2 separate regions of the Homo sapiens genome follow, and region 2 is linked to region 1. Evidence: promoter capture Hi-C in 16 types of primary human blood cells and fetal thymus (Javierre and others, 2016). All regions are on one chromosome and are shown on one strand. The core of a region is centred on a gene start or on the middle of the fragment in contact, and the rest is flanking DNA. Distances in the headings are between cores, read along the strand shown. Region 1 holds the start of ESRP1 (epithelial splicing regulatory protein 1). Region 2 overlaps CFAP418-AS1 (CFAP418 antisense RNA 1).

Region 1 (3,480 bases), core at 979-3,478:
AGGATGCAGGATTTGCCTGACATGAAGCTGCCCATCAGTACAGAGACAGAAGGAAGTCCCTACTCCAATATTCAGTTCATTGCTCACTGACTGGTTAAACTGCAAGAACAAGATACACATAGGGATGCAACTGATGCACGATTTACAAACTCTGCAAAGTAGCTCCCCTTGGTGATAGCCAGAGAAAACCGCAATAAGGGCCCTGATGGGTGACACCGGTGCTGGGGCAACCTTGGACAGACTCCTTTCCCACGAACCGTCTAGCTTCCTCGAGGTAGGGAAGCTTTCCAATCAATCCGCAGTTCGCGCCCAGGAGAAACTTGTCAATGCATTCTCCCTTCTGTTTTTACAAAAAAAATTCATTCAAGACTTAAGTCAGATGTCTCATTTCATCAGCAGGTTGCCTGCAGATTACATCATTCCCTAGTGTTACTTTTTATATGTTTGGATGTGCCAGGCTTAAGAAAGATGCCAGCTTCTAATAAACAAATACGGGTATTGGGTATACAGATCTGGAAAGTCTTGGATGAATACACCCCAGGAAGGATAGCTTTCTCCTATAACTCGAAGCTCGTGTGCTAGGGCAGAGGTCGTGAGAACGCAGAGCATTCATCTGTGCACAGGTGTTTAGCGCCCCGCCCTACCCGATCCGGCACCCGTCAGCACCCCGGAACAGCCGGTTTTTAGGTCACCTCAGTCCTAATAAGGGGATTCCATCAGTTCCGCAGTGACACAACGGGCAGCCTTGCACGTTCGGACCTGAAAAACCTCCCTGGCAGTGGGACCAAGGCCACTAAAGAAATAATGACGGACCGAGCCTTTCGTTGGGAGTTCAGAAGCCTGAAACCAGGCAGGCACCTTCAGGTTCCAACCCACAGTGCTACTTCTTGCACACCCGCCGGGCCCACCTGCACGTCTACGCCACAGCGCCCCCTGCCCGAAGGCTGTGGGCCCAAACCCCGCAGGGGAGCGGCGCGTCTGGGGTCTGGACCTGGAGATGGGGGCGCTAGGATTCAAACTCCGCACGTCAATCAATTGGCAAAATGGAGCTGACTCTCCGGCTCCAGTAACTACTCAGGAAGCAACTCGAAAACTAGTGAATGTCGGTCCCAAACCCTGGGGGCTGGGAGATGAAGAGAAGCAGCGACCCCCGCCCAAACGGTGCGCCCCGGCCCTCAGGCTGGGCTCCCACCCACGCGGCCGGGCAGGCGTCTCGCCACCCTGCTCCGGGAACACGCGTGGGCCGCCCTGAGAGGGCGTAGGGTGCGGTGGGGTTGGGCCCAGGCTGGGGTGGGTGGCGTGACCCGGGGTTGTCACCTGTCGGAGGGCTTGGTCCAGCTGCGACGCCGAGGACAGGCTTTCGACGTCTATTTTAGTTTCTTCTTTGCAGTCCTCCGTCAGTTCCAACTGATCCGGTCTAACTAGCACTTCGTGCAACTGTCCCACCTCCGAAGGTAGAGAAGCACGGGTCAGTTTCCCCCAATTTCGGAGCCTCTTTCTGCACCCTCCTCCCTCGCTCCCCTGCTGGGGCGGCCCGCGCCTCTCTTGGGGTCCGGACGCAGAATCAAAGCTCTCGACTCGCCATCGGTTCCGGTGCGTTCCTGCCCCCCGCCCCACCCCCCACCCGATAGGTCGGAAAAGCCCTGGAAGTGGACCCCGGGGCCTCCGAGACCCCACCTCGTCTCGGCGGAGCGTCCCCCGACGGGCAAAGAACCCGGCTCGGTAGCGCCGGCCTCTCCACCTGAGCTAAGTTGCGGAGGACTGAAATGGCTCCAAGGCAGTTGGCCAATAAGTTTGGTTTTACTCTAGCTTCCCTAGGCCTCGGGTCCAGACTCACAAGTGGGCAAACAAGAGCACTTATTTACTTACCTCCACCCCCCTCCCCGCCCAAACCTCTACCACAAACTTCTTGCCCCATTCCTTGCATTTAGACGAAAATGTGGAGAAATACCTTCTTGTTGGCCAGATCCACGACTTTCCAGAACAGCAGGATCAACTCCTTCTCATCCGAGCCTAGCTTGGCCCCGGTGGCCCCAGCAGTGATCCCAAAAAGCACCACCAAGTAATCCGGAGAGGCCGTCATGACGATAGGTGGGGAGGGGGAGAGGGGGGGTCGGGAGGCGGTAAGGTGGTGTGGAAGTGAGAACGAAAAAACCTGTGCTAAACCCTCTTCTAAGAGAAAAAGAAAGAGCGCCCACCCCCCTTCCTTGCTACTGCTAGTGCAAAAGGCGGTAACCAACCACCCAAGCCCACACCTGGTCGGTGCTCCACGCCCAGGGCAGGAAGGGGGGTGGGAAGGAGGGCGCAGGAGGCCTGCCCTTTTTGTATTCAGTTGCCCGGGCGTCTATGCAAAAAGCCTGGAGCAAGGCTGCCCCCCCCGGGAGGCACGCAATGGCTGAAAGCTTTTCTGTTTTGGGATGTGGCTTTACCTGCCCGCCCCTTCCCCCTCCCCCACGTGGTGCAGGTAAGAGACACCTGGCGGCGCCGGCCCATTGGCTCCTTCAAACCACGACGTGGCAGCGGTGGGGGAGGAGGCCGCTTCGGGAGGGGGAGGAAGGGGCGGGAGACAATGGCTGGATGAATGGAGAGGCGAGGGCAGGGGAGGAGGAGGGGGAGACGTGAGGGGCAGGGAAGAGGCGGTTGACACCCAGAGGGTAGACGAGGCCAGACGGGGAAAGGGCTCAGAGAGGTAAAGGGCTCGGAGTCGCTGGGGGGAGGGGTTCCCACTGGAGGTAACTGAGAGGTGCAGGGGGGCTCGGAGAATACCGGCTGCAGGGAACGAAGCCGAAGGTTCTGAACGGTCAAGCGAAAAGGCCAGGTGCAGGGAGGCGAAAGGAGGCCAGAGGTGAGGCCCGGGGCGCGGAGCTGCCCAGGGCGCGGCGCAGGCGGAGGACGAACTGCTGAGGGAGGGACCTGCCAACCGCAGCCAGGAGGTGGCGGGGGCAACTGCAGATCCCCGGAAAAGCAGCTCCTGAGCCAACACAACTTTCAGTGCAAACAGCAGGAGAAATCCTGCGAGCCCCCCCTTCTCCGGGCCGGAGCCCGGGTGCACGCTCGTCCCAAACCCGCCGCGCTGCCCACCTTCCGGAGAGGAACCCCGCGCGCGGCAGAGCCGGACGCCAGGGGCTGGACGCCCAACCACCTAGTCACTCCCCAGGACGCAGTTATCGCGCGCAAAGCAGCTGGGGGACCCCGCAAGGAAACTCAGGCACAATGGAGCCCGCTTCTTTTTCTGTCAACTCTGAATGCTATGTCTGGTTTGGTCCTGGCTGCTAGTTCGAAGCTGGAACATCCTCCAGAGCTGGGGCCCATTTCCTTTTATTTGCCTTGGGCCCCAAATGAAAAGCATCTATCCGCATGCCTAATAAAAATTTTCTTAAATCGGGCCACGCAGGCTTTTTCCCAGGTTCTGCGCCCTGACCCCATTCCCTCTGCTCATGCTTTTGGCATTGTATTGGAGTGTGTTGACTTGACCAAGCT
Region 2 (3,771 bases), core at 1,157-3,656, 650 kb before region 1:
ATACAATAGATTATACTAGAAGAGTGAATTACACTCTACTAAGGATAAGTATTGTTTAGTGAAACTTTTAATTCAGAGGGGGTATATGTGGGTGTGTGTAGTGTTTCTGTGTACTGGGTCATTATATAATGACTCAAAAAAGTTTGAAACCACTGATAAAAGAGGCTCAAATAAAAATAGAGGAGGAGGAAAGAAAGTGTTATAAAATAGGAAAAACCCTGAGATCACTACACCTCTGGATTTAGATGTGTCTATAACTTTCCTTATTGTATTACCTTCCTTATTGGGTCAGGTTTTCTATTGCTTGATGCTGACTAAATCACAAGGTAGCAAGGCTGAAGTGAAGATTCAATTAGATAATCTGGAGTTGGACATGGTAGCTCACACCTGTAATCCCAGCACCTTGGGAAGCTGAGGCGGGAGGATCATTTGAGGCCAGGAATTGGAGACCAGACTGGGGAAGATGGTGAAATCCTGTCTCCACAAAAAATTTAAAAATTAGCCAGACAAGCCATATGCAGAAAACTGAAACCGGACCCCTTCCTTATATGTTATACAAAAATTAACTCAAGATGGATTAAAGACTTAAATGTAAGACCTAAAACCATAAAAACCCTAGAGGAAAACCTAGGCAATACTATTCAGGACAGAAGCATGGGCAAAGACTTCATGACTAAAACACCAAAAGCAATGGCAACAAAAGCCAAAATTGACAAATGGGATCCAATTAAACTAAAGAGCTTCCACACAGCAAAAGAAAGTATCATCAGAGTGAACAGGCAACCTACAGAATGGGGGAAACTTTTTGCAATCTACCCATCTGACAAAGGGCTAATATCCAGAATCTACAAAGAACTCAAACAAATTTACAAGAAAAAAAAACAAACAACCCCATCAAAAAGTGGACAAAGGATACGAACAGACACTTCTCAAAAGAAGACATTTATGTGGCCAACAAACATATGAAAAAAAGCTCATCATCACTCGTCATTAGAGAAATGCAAATCAAAACCACAATGAGATACCATCTCACACCAGTTAGAATGGCAATCATTAAAAAGTCAGGAAACAACAGATGCTGGAGAGGATGTGGAGAAATAGGAACACTTTTACACTGTTGGTGGGAATATAAATTAGTTCAACCATTTGTGGAAGACAGTGTGGCAATTCCTCAAGGATCTAGAAACAGAAATACCATTTGACCCGGCAATCCCATTACTGTGTATATACCCAAAGGATTATAAATCATTCTACTATAAAGACACAGGCACACGTATGTTTATTGCAGTACTATTCACAATAGCAAAGACTGGAACCAACCCATAATGCCCATCAATGATAGACTGGATAAAGAAAATGTGGCACATATATACCATGGAATACTATGCAGCCATAAAAAAGGATGAGTTCATGTCCTTTGTAGGGACATGGATGAAGCTGGAAACCATCATTCTCAGCAAACACAGAAACAGAAAACCAAACACCGTATGTTCTCACTAATAAGTGGGAGTTGAACAAGCAGAAAACATGGACACAGGGAGGGGAACATCACACACCGGGGCCAGTTGGGGGTGGGGGGCTAGGGGAGGGATAGCATTAGGAGAAATATCTAATGTAGATAACGGGTTGATGCATGCAGTAAACCACCATGGCACGTGTACACCTATGTAACAAACCTGCACATTCTGCACATGTATCCCAGAACTTAAAGTATAATAAATTAAAATAAAATAAAATAAAACATTAGCCAGACATGGTGGTGTGCACCTGTAATCCCAGCTACTCAGGAGGCTGAGGTGGGAGGATCCCTTGGGCCCAGGAGATCGAAGCCGCAGTGAGCTATATTGTGCCACTGAACTCCAGCCTGGGCAAGAGAGTTTTTTATTTTTTTCTCAAAATAAATAAATTAGATTATCTAAAAGTATTTTGTAAACTAGAGACAACTTATACAAATGAGAGCTTTTCTCCAAAATCACAATGTTTCAACTAACCTAGGTAGAAGGGATTTTTTAGGAAAAATCCTCAACTGTTGTAAGCCTCACCTTCTCTTTGTTGGGACATACTTGCCCTCTCTCTTGGCTCTGGAGCAGGGATTGCATTCTGTACAACACCTAGTGCATTATCAACACTTAATAAATGCAGAATAATGTGATAACTAACAAATTGCCACCAGATGTTCTTAAGGCTTTGCAACCTTCAGGTGAAACTGCACAAAATAATAGTTTAATTATTACAACATCCCTGTCAGTAATGATGAGTGTCTGTCTGTTTTAAGGCTGAAACCTCAAGTTAGGCTGCTGCTATAGTGTTTAAGACTAAATGCTCAAATATGGTCCCCAAAGGCAGATCTTGGGAACAGCTAATAATCAGCTTCTCTATACATCACCATGTTGAATTATTTTACTCAAAAACAAAGCTCAACATTCCAAATCAATATGTCAAAAAAAGTTTCTGGCTGAAATGAAGTTTCAAGAAGACGACAAGTACTATCAGCAGAGGCAGACAAGAAACAAAAAGCATTATCTGTAAGAGGTTAATGAGACGGTAGGATGGCAAGGCTGCTTGGAAGAACTCAAAGGAATTGCCTCCTCCAAAGGACATCAGGAAAGGAACTGGATCCTTCCATTCTCAGAAAATGTTTCTCTTCTCCAGTGGGGTCTCAACCCTGGTGTAGATTGGAATCACCTTGAAAGGTTTTTGGTATTTGGGGCTTTCTTTTAGCATCATGTCCCTGAACCCCACTCTAAACAGTTAAATCAGAATTTCTTGGAGAGGAACTTAAACTGTAGATACTGGACCAACATCATGAACACCACCTAGGAACTTGTAAGAAATACAGAATCTCAAGCCCCACTCAAGACCTATTTAATCAGGATTTGCATTGTCACAAATCCCCAGGTGATTCTTGTGCCCATTATAGTTGGAGAAATGCAAGAATCTTATTTTTTCTCACATAACAGTTCCAGGGTAGCAGTTCAGGGTAACAGGGAAGCCCTGCTCCACATGGTCTTTCAGGTACCAAGGTTCCTTCCTTTGTGCTGCTCATCATCCTCCAGGACATTGCTCACATCTGCCTGGTCAAAACTGGATTACTATGGGGTTCCAACCAGTAGCAGTGGAGGAGAGCATGGAGGAGATCCTTTTATTGCCCTGAGGCCCACACCGAGAAATGCCACACAGTATATCTGCTCTGAATGTGGTCACAGGAACACATCTAATGCAAAGTAGGCTGTGAAATGAAGTCTCGTTACAGGCCTAGAAAGAAAGAGAAAACAATTTTGGTAGACAAAGAACAGTCTCCATGCCAGACACACAGTGCCCAATAAATGATGGCTATTATTATTAACCAGGATGTATACTTCACCAGCTTAGAGTACAAATAGTGTTTCACTTATTTTTCTAGTGACTTGCTGAGGCCCAAGGACCTTACCAACAGAAAATCTGGTATTCCTTTCTTGGGGCCTTTCCCAATACTCTATCTCCAGACGATCCAACATTCTAGGGCCTTTCTCACTTCTAAAGGGTCAATTACACTTCCAAATGCCAGGTGGGAGAAATAACTAGAAAGTTCTATGAACCCACCAGCACCATTGCTTTGGTAGTTACCTCATAGGCATACTAAACACTGGTCTCGCTAGCCCAATGGCCAGTCATCCTTGTTTTGGAAATGTCCTTGCTGCTCACAGGTCACAGTCATGTCTTCACTTGTATTTTTAGGTCATTGCACTTGCTCAGTTGTCATTCCTCAGTGAAACTGTGCCCAGCTGGCTT

What was found. The method cuts DNA at HindIII sites, captures the fragments that hold promoters and counts their contacts. A CHiCAGO score of 5 or more calls a contact.
Region 2: a contact is called between a fragment that was not itself captured here and the fragment with the promoter of ESRP1 in region 1, in 1 of 17 cell types (neutrophils). The highest score is 5.7, in neutrophils.

The regions. Positions count from the first base shown.
Region 1 is chr8:94,639,922-94,643,401 of GRCh38, reverse strand. ESRP1 (epithelial splicing regulatory protein 1) reads right to left here and starts at 2,228. Exons shown (of 16, transcript NM_017697.4): 1 at 1,952-2,228; 2 at 1,318-1,446; 3 at 1-99. The coding sequence starts at 2,083. RefSeq lists an enhancer at 801-890. The HindIII fragment of the contact is 2,119 bases long and covers 286-2,404 here.
Region 2 is chr8:95,285,352-95,289,122 of GRCh38, reverse strand. All of the region lies in intron 1 of CFAP418-AS1 (CFAP418 antisense RNA 1), which reads right to left. Among named protein-coding and RNA genes, the nearest start is that of TRS-AGA2-5, 17 kb to the right of the region's middle. The HindIII fragment of the contact is 5,016 bases long and covers 1-3,771 here.